Regions from separate parts of the Homo sapiens genome. Here region 1 is linked to region 2. Evidence: promoter capture Hi-C in human tissues and cell types (Jung and others, 2019). All regions are on one chromosome and are shown on one strand. Each heading gives the region's core, a stretch centred on a gene start or on the middle of the fragment in contact. The rest is flanking DNA. Distances are from core to core; before and after follow the strand shown.

Region 1 (3,330 bases), core at 732-3,231, 190 kb after region 2:
CACCAATCAAACGTAGATTTGGTCTTTTCACATAGTCCCATATTTCTTGGAGGCTCTGTTCATTTCTTTTCACTTTTTTTTCTCTAATCTTGTCTTCTCACTTTATTTCATTAATTTGATCTTCGATCACTGATATCCTTTCTTCCGCTTGATTGAATCGGCTATTGAAGCTTGTGTATGCTTCACTAAGTTCTTGTACTGTGGTTTTCAGATCCATCATGTCATTTAAGCTCTTCTCTACACTGGTTATTCTAGTTAACCATTTGTCCTACCTTTTTTCAAAGATTTTAGCTTCCTTGCAATGGGTGAGAACATGCTCCTTTAGCTCGGAGAAGTTTGTTATTACCGACCTTCTGAAGCCTACTTCTGTCAACCTGTCAAACTCATTCTCCATCCAGTTTTGTTCCCTTGCTGGTGAGGAGTTGTGTTTCTTTGGAGAAGAAGAGGCATTCTGGTTTTTGGAATTTTTTAGCCTTTCTGCTCTGGTTTCTTCCCATCTTTGTGGTTTTATCTACCTTTAGTCTTTGATGTTGGTGACTTACAGATGGGGTTTTGGTGTGGATGTCCTTTTTGTTGATGTTGATGCTATTCCTTTCTGTTTGCTAGTTTTCCTTCTAACAGACAGGCCACTCAGCTGCAGGTCTGTTGGAGTTTACTGGAGGTCCACTCCAGACCCTGTTTGCCTGGGTATCACCAGCAGAGGCTGCAGAACAGCAAATATTGCTGCCTGATCCTTCCTCTGGAAGCTTCGTCTCAGAGGGGAACCTGCTTGTATGAGGTGTCTGTCGGCCCCTACTGGGAGATGTCTCCTAGTCAGGCTACACAGGGGTCAGGGAACCACTTGAGGAGGCAGTGTGTCCATTCTTAGAGCTCAAACATCACGCTGGGAGAACCACTGCTCTCTTCAGAGCTGTCCAGGAGGGACGTTTAAGTCTGGAGAAGCTGTCTGCTGCCTTTTGTTCAGATATGCCCTGCCCCCAGAGGTGGAATCTAGAGAAGCAGTAGGCCTTGCTGAGCTGTGGTGTGCTCTGCCCAGTTCGCGGTTCCCTGCCACTTTGTTTACTCCAAGTGAGCACAGAACTGCCTACTCAAGCCTCACCAATGGCAGACGCCCCTTGCCCCACCAAGCTCCCACGTCCCAGGTCAATCTCAGACTGCTGTGCTAGCAGCTAGCAAGGCTCCGTGGGTGTGGGACCTGCTGAGCCAGGCATGGGAAGGGATCTCCTGGTCTGATGGTTGTGAAGACTGTGGGAAAAGCGCAGTATTTGGGCAGGAGTGTACCACTCCTCCAAGCACAGTCACTCACGGCTTCCCTTGGCTAGGAAAGGGAAATCCCCCGACCCCTTGTGCTTCCTGGGTGAAGCAATGCCCCACCCTGCTTTGGCTCACCCTCCGTGGGCTGCACCCACTGTCCAACCAGTCCCAATGAGATGAACCAGGTACCTCAGTTGGAAATGCAGAAATCACCCATCTTCTGTGTCAATCTTGCTGGGAGCTGTAGACCAGAGCTGTTCCTATTCAGCCATCTTGGAAGCGACTCCTTAAGATACGTGTTTTTTAAAAAATCTTAATTGAGTTCTGATATGGCTTTAAGGATACAGCAATTAGGTAAAACAGGGAAATTAGTAAAATGTAGTAAAAGTAATTCTATCTATTGCTGTCAGGACTGATAGGTTTTTATTTTATTTAATTAATTAATTTATTTTTGAGACAGAGTCTCACTCTGTTGCCCAGGCTGGAGTGCAGTGGTGCAAACTCAGATCTCTGCAACCTCCACCTCCTGGGTTCAAGCAATTCTCCTGCCTCACCTCCCGAGTAGCTGAGATTACAGGTGCCCACTGCCACATCCAGCTAATTTTTGTATTTTTAGTAGAGACGGGGTTTTGCCATGTTGGCTAGGCTGGTCTCGAAATCCCGACCTCAGATGACCTGTCTGCCTTGGCCTCCCAAAGTGCTGGGATTACAGGCATGAGCCATCGCGCCTAGCCTATTTCATTTTTTTGAGACAAAGTCTCGCTCTGAGGCCTAGGCAGGAGTACAATGGCACAATCTCAGTTCACTGCAGCCTAAACCTCCCAGGTCCAAGTAATCCCCTGGCCTAAGCCTTCCCAGTAGCTGGGACTACAGGCATGTGCCGTCACACCTTGCTAATTAAAAAAATGTTTTTTTGTAGAGACAAGGTCTCCCTATGTTGCCCAGGCTGGCCACAAACTCCTGTTCTCAAGTGATCCTCCTGTCTCAGCCTCCAAAGTGTTGGGATTAGAGGTGTGAACCACCATGCCCAGCCAGGGCTGATAGGTAATTTTAAAAGCTGGTTGAAATAGAGAATCACACACACACAAAAATGGCTCACACATTAATATTTCAACATAAAAGTATATAAACTTGCAAATGTATATTAATTCACCAATCATTTTGTAAAAGCGATACAACTATGCAGATTGAATTTATTCATTTTCTTTCTTGTGTAAATTACACCCATAAGGCATAAGTCTGTGATTTCCAACTTTGGTTTAAAGATACTTATGAAGCAATATCTATATTCTTTTCAAAGCTTTGTCATTGCCCCACTCCCAACTCTTTTACAGGTCTCTTGTCCACTGCTAATTTAAATACTTCCTTCCACCCCCACCTTGAGACGGAGTCTTGCTCTGTCACCCAGGCTGGAGTGCAGTGGTGTGATCACGGCTCACTGCAAACTCCACCTCCCTGGTTCAAGCAATTCTCCTGCCTCAGCCTCCTGAGTAGGTGGGATCACAGGCACTCACCACCTGTGATCCAAAATGTGATACAAAAATGCCAGGCTAATTTTTGTATTCTTAGTAGAGAGGGGGTTTCACCATGTTGGCCAGGCTGATCTCGAACTCTTGACCGCGTGATTCACCCACCTTGGCCTCCCAAAGTAATGGGATTACAGTTGTGAGCCACCACACCTGGCCCTAAATACCTTTTTTTTAATTTTATTTTTAAGATACAGGGTCTTGTTCTGTTGCTCATGATTGAGTTCAATGACATAATCTTAGGTTACTGTAATCTTCAACTCCTGGGCTCAATCAATCCTCCCACCTCAGTCTCCTGAGTAGCTAGGATTACTGGTGTGCACCACTATAACTGGCTAATTTATTTGGTAGAGACAAAATATATCACCCAGGCTGGTCTCTAACTTGTGGCCTCAAGAGATCCTTTTGCTTCCCCTCCCAAAGTGCTAGGATTACAGGCATGAGCCACCACACCCAGCCTTAAATAAGTGTTTAATGACCTGCTAAATAATCCACGTTAGCTTTTATAGACACAACTCTACTTTCCCTATTCATATTACATCAATTTGTG
Region 2 (3,198 bases), core at 253-2,752:
TACAATGAAACATTAAGGGTTGTTTTCCTACTTTGTTTCTAATATACTATTTTTAAACAGAAATTAAATGCTTTTTAAAAGAACTGTATACAGAAGAGTGGCCAAATGGTCAATTAAGGCTTATTCCTAAAGCTTAATGAGAACTTTATCATTAAAACATCATTAATTAGGGTAAACTCTAACGAATGCCCTAATGCCAGATTCTTAATGACAGACAGCAGTAAAATACTGGTTGTAAATTTGTCACTATTTATTAATCTGAGGTTGAATAACCACTCAAGGGCACTTAGATGATCTGAACAAATATGTAAATCAGATTTGGATTTAAATGTCTACATTTAAGTTGTCTGATTTTCAGATACCATTTGCTGGTGTACGAACCCACCAAAGGAAATACTTCCTAATTATTTGCTTTCAGTTTACAGTTTCACCTCCAAGTAAGGGTGGAAAGATTTAAAACAACATACGCGTGCCTAGACATTTCAAAAGCAGGCTGCTGCAAAACTAGTGCTAACAAATTCATCCTGTCTTTTAATATAGACAGAAAACCCACTTCCACTAATAGCATGAAAGGACAGAAGCAAGAAAGCAATGTAGAGGAACCCTAGTCTCACATAAATGACAAGTGTGATATAGCAAATCTCTCGATGAATTCAACTGTAAAAAAGAACAACGATCCCACCCCCAAGCAAAAAAAAAAAGAAAAAAAAAGTGCTTTGATTAGGGATTTCAGAGCCTATTAATTTTAGAAGCAGTAACATTAGCCTCCCAGTCTATGTCGTCACTAGAAGCCCTTTGGGTTTTGAGAATTCCCACTTGTGTCGCATCTTTCTACATAATAACAAGCTACCAAAAGACTGAAGTGAATGCAAAAAACGACTAGGTTCTAGGGAAACCAGATGAGATATAAAAGAATCCAACAAGAGACTAATAAGGGTCCACCTGTCCCCAGGGCCCAGGAATGATCGTCCCCACATGGGGCCAAAATAAGGTTGGAAATAACTGACTCCATGCTCTGACCATGGCAGGGGGTGAGCGCCTGCCATGCTCATTCCAGAGGTACAGGACCAGGAAAGGGAAAGCATCCGACTGCCTCCCAAGGTCTCCCGGCATAGACCGTTAGCGGCACCCTCCCCTTCAGTCTGAGACAGCGACGTTGTCCCGTCCTGACACTTAACTCTCCTGGTGGGGTCCCTGTCCGGCCTCCATCCCAGCCTTTTTCCCGCTGCCCTCAGGATGCTCACTTAAGGAAACCGACGTGCTCTTCTCCGTCTACCAGCACTCGGGCCGCCGAGATCCAGTCCTGAGGCTTCACCCCTGGAACAACTGCACGCCCCTCAATCTTGAAGCGATCTCCTATGCCGACCCCACTCCCTCCCGATCCCTCAGCAGCAGCCCCGGGCACCTCCGAGCTCTGGACATCCCCCGATAGCAGCAGCAGCAGCAGGACGGGAAAGAAGCCCCACAGAGCGGCCGCCATGACAGCAGCTCTGCACTCAGACCGGCAGCCCCGGAAGCCCTCCCAGTCTCCCGGCCGCCACCGCCGCCGCTGGCGGCTTGATGTTGTCATCACTGCGCGCCCGTTTCTGTCATAAGCTGTGGGATCCAACCAGAGGGAAGAGATCATGGCCGATCGACTAGCGAGGCGGAAGTAAGGCGGAAGTACTGCCCTTAACTCCCGGCACTCTGGATTGGAAGACGGCGCACAGAGCCTGTGTCAAGTGCCTATGAAGGGGACTGCCCATGAAGTGAAAGTCAAGTGTGTGTTGCTGCGGCAGCCACGGAGGCCAAGGACCTCACGGGAGTAAAAGATGACGAGACTGGCTTCGGGAGAAACACCATCCAGAAGAGACCTTTCAAAAAACTTCTAGAGACTCCCCAAGACGTATGAGATGAAAGGCTTCTTCTGTCTGTGTGCGTTTAACTCATTTCTCCTTAGCCCCGAGATTACGCGCTGCTGTGCCTGCGACTGCAGCGTTTACGCCGAGATAACTCGTGGATTACAGTGCCAACCTTACTCCCAAAGTTTGCCACGAAATATCTCGCTTCTGTTATTTTCGCATGGTTCTGGTATATTGACTTTTGAAACAAAAGACATCATTCTGTTTATAGCATTCTGTTTTTAGTAGTGGGATTTCCATCTACAAAATATAGTAATTCTCGATCGCTGAAATGTCAAATCCTAGAAAACGTAGCATTCCTATGCGTGATAGTAATACCGGTCTCGAACAGTTGTTGGCTGAAGATTCATTTGATGAATCTGATTTTTCGGAAATAGATGATTCTGATAATTTTTCGGATAGTGCTTTAGAAGCCGATAAGATCAGGCCTCTGTCCCATTTAGAATCTGATGGAAAGAGCTCTACATCAAGTGACTCAGGGCGCTCCATGAAATGGTCAGCTCGTGCTATGATTCCACGTCAAAGGTATGACTTTACCGGCACACCTGGCAGAAAAGTCGATGTCAGTGATATCACTGACCCATTGCAGTATTTTGAACTGTTCTTTACTGAGGAATTAGTTTCAAAAATTACTAGAGAAACAAATGCCCAAGCTGCCTTGTTGGCTTCAAAGCCACCGGGTCCGAAAGGATTTTCGCGAATGGATAAATGGAAAGACACTGACAATGACGAGCTCAAAGTCTTTTTTGCAGTAATGTTACTGCAAGGTATTGTGCAGAAACCTGAGCTGGAGATGTTTTGGTCAACAAGGCCTCTTTTGGATACACCTTATCTCAGGCAAATTATGACTGGTGAAAGATTTTTACTTTTGTTTCGGTGCCTGCATTTTGTCAACAATTCTTCTATATCTGCTGGTCAATCAAAGGCCCAGATTTCATTGCAGAAGATCAAACCTGTGTTCGACTTTCTTGTAAATAAATTTTCCACTGTATATACTCCAAACAGAAACATTGCAGTTGATGAATCACTGATGCTGTTCAAGGGGCCATTAGCTATGAAGCAGTACCTCCCGACAAAACGAGTACGATTTGGTCTGAAGCTATATGTACTTTGTGAAAGTCAGTCTGGTTATGTGTGGAATGCGCTTGTTCACACAGGGCCTGGCATGAATTTGAAAGATTCAGCGGATGGCCTGAAATCATCACGCATTGTTCTTACCTTGGTCAATGACCTTCTTGGCCAAGGGTATTGTGTCTTCCTCGATAACTTTAATATATCTCCCATGCTTTTCAGAGAA

The links. Contacts are between HindIII fragments. The study calls those that stand out against the background at their distance.
Region 1: a contact is called between a fragment that was not itself captured here and the fragment with the promoter of EMC7 in region 2, in 1 of the 25 tissues and cell types used here (H1 embryonic stem cells).

Annotation. Positions count from the first base shown.
Region 1 is chr15:34,291,616-34,294,945 of GRCh38, forward strand. The region is part of intron 2 of SLC12A6 (solute carrier family 12 member 6); the gene reads right to left. Among named protein-coding and RNA genes, the nearest start is that of SLC12A6, 44 kb to the right of the region's middle. RefSeq lists a silencer at 1,577-1,796. The HindIII fragment of the contact is 4,166 bases long and covers 1-3,330 here.
Region 2 is chr15:34,100,360-34,103,557 of GRCh38, forward strand. EMC7 (ER membrane protein complex subunit 7) reads right to left here and starts at 1,503. Exons shown (of 5, transcript NM_020154.3): 1 at 1,245-1,503. The coding sequence starts at 1,480. PGBD4 (piggyBac transposable element derived 4) reads left to right here and starts at 1,724. Exons shown (of 1, transcript NM_152595.5): 1 at 1,724-3,198. The coding sequence starts at 2,173. RefSeq lists enhancers at 647-1,504, 1,114-1,813, 1,844-1,933. The HindIII fragment of the contact is 11,801 bases long and covers 1-3,198 here.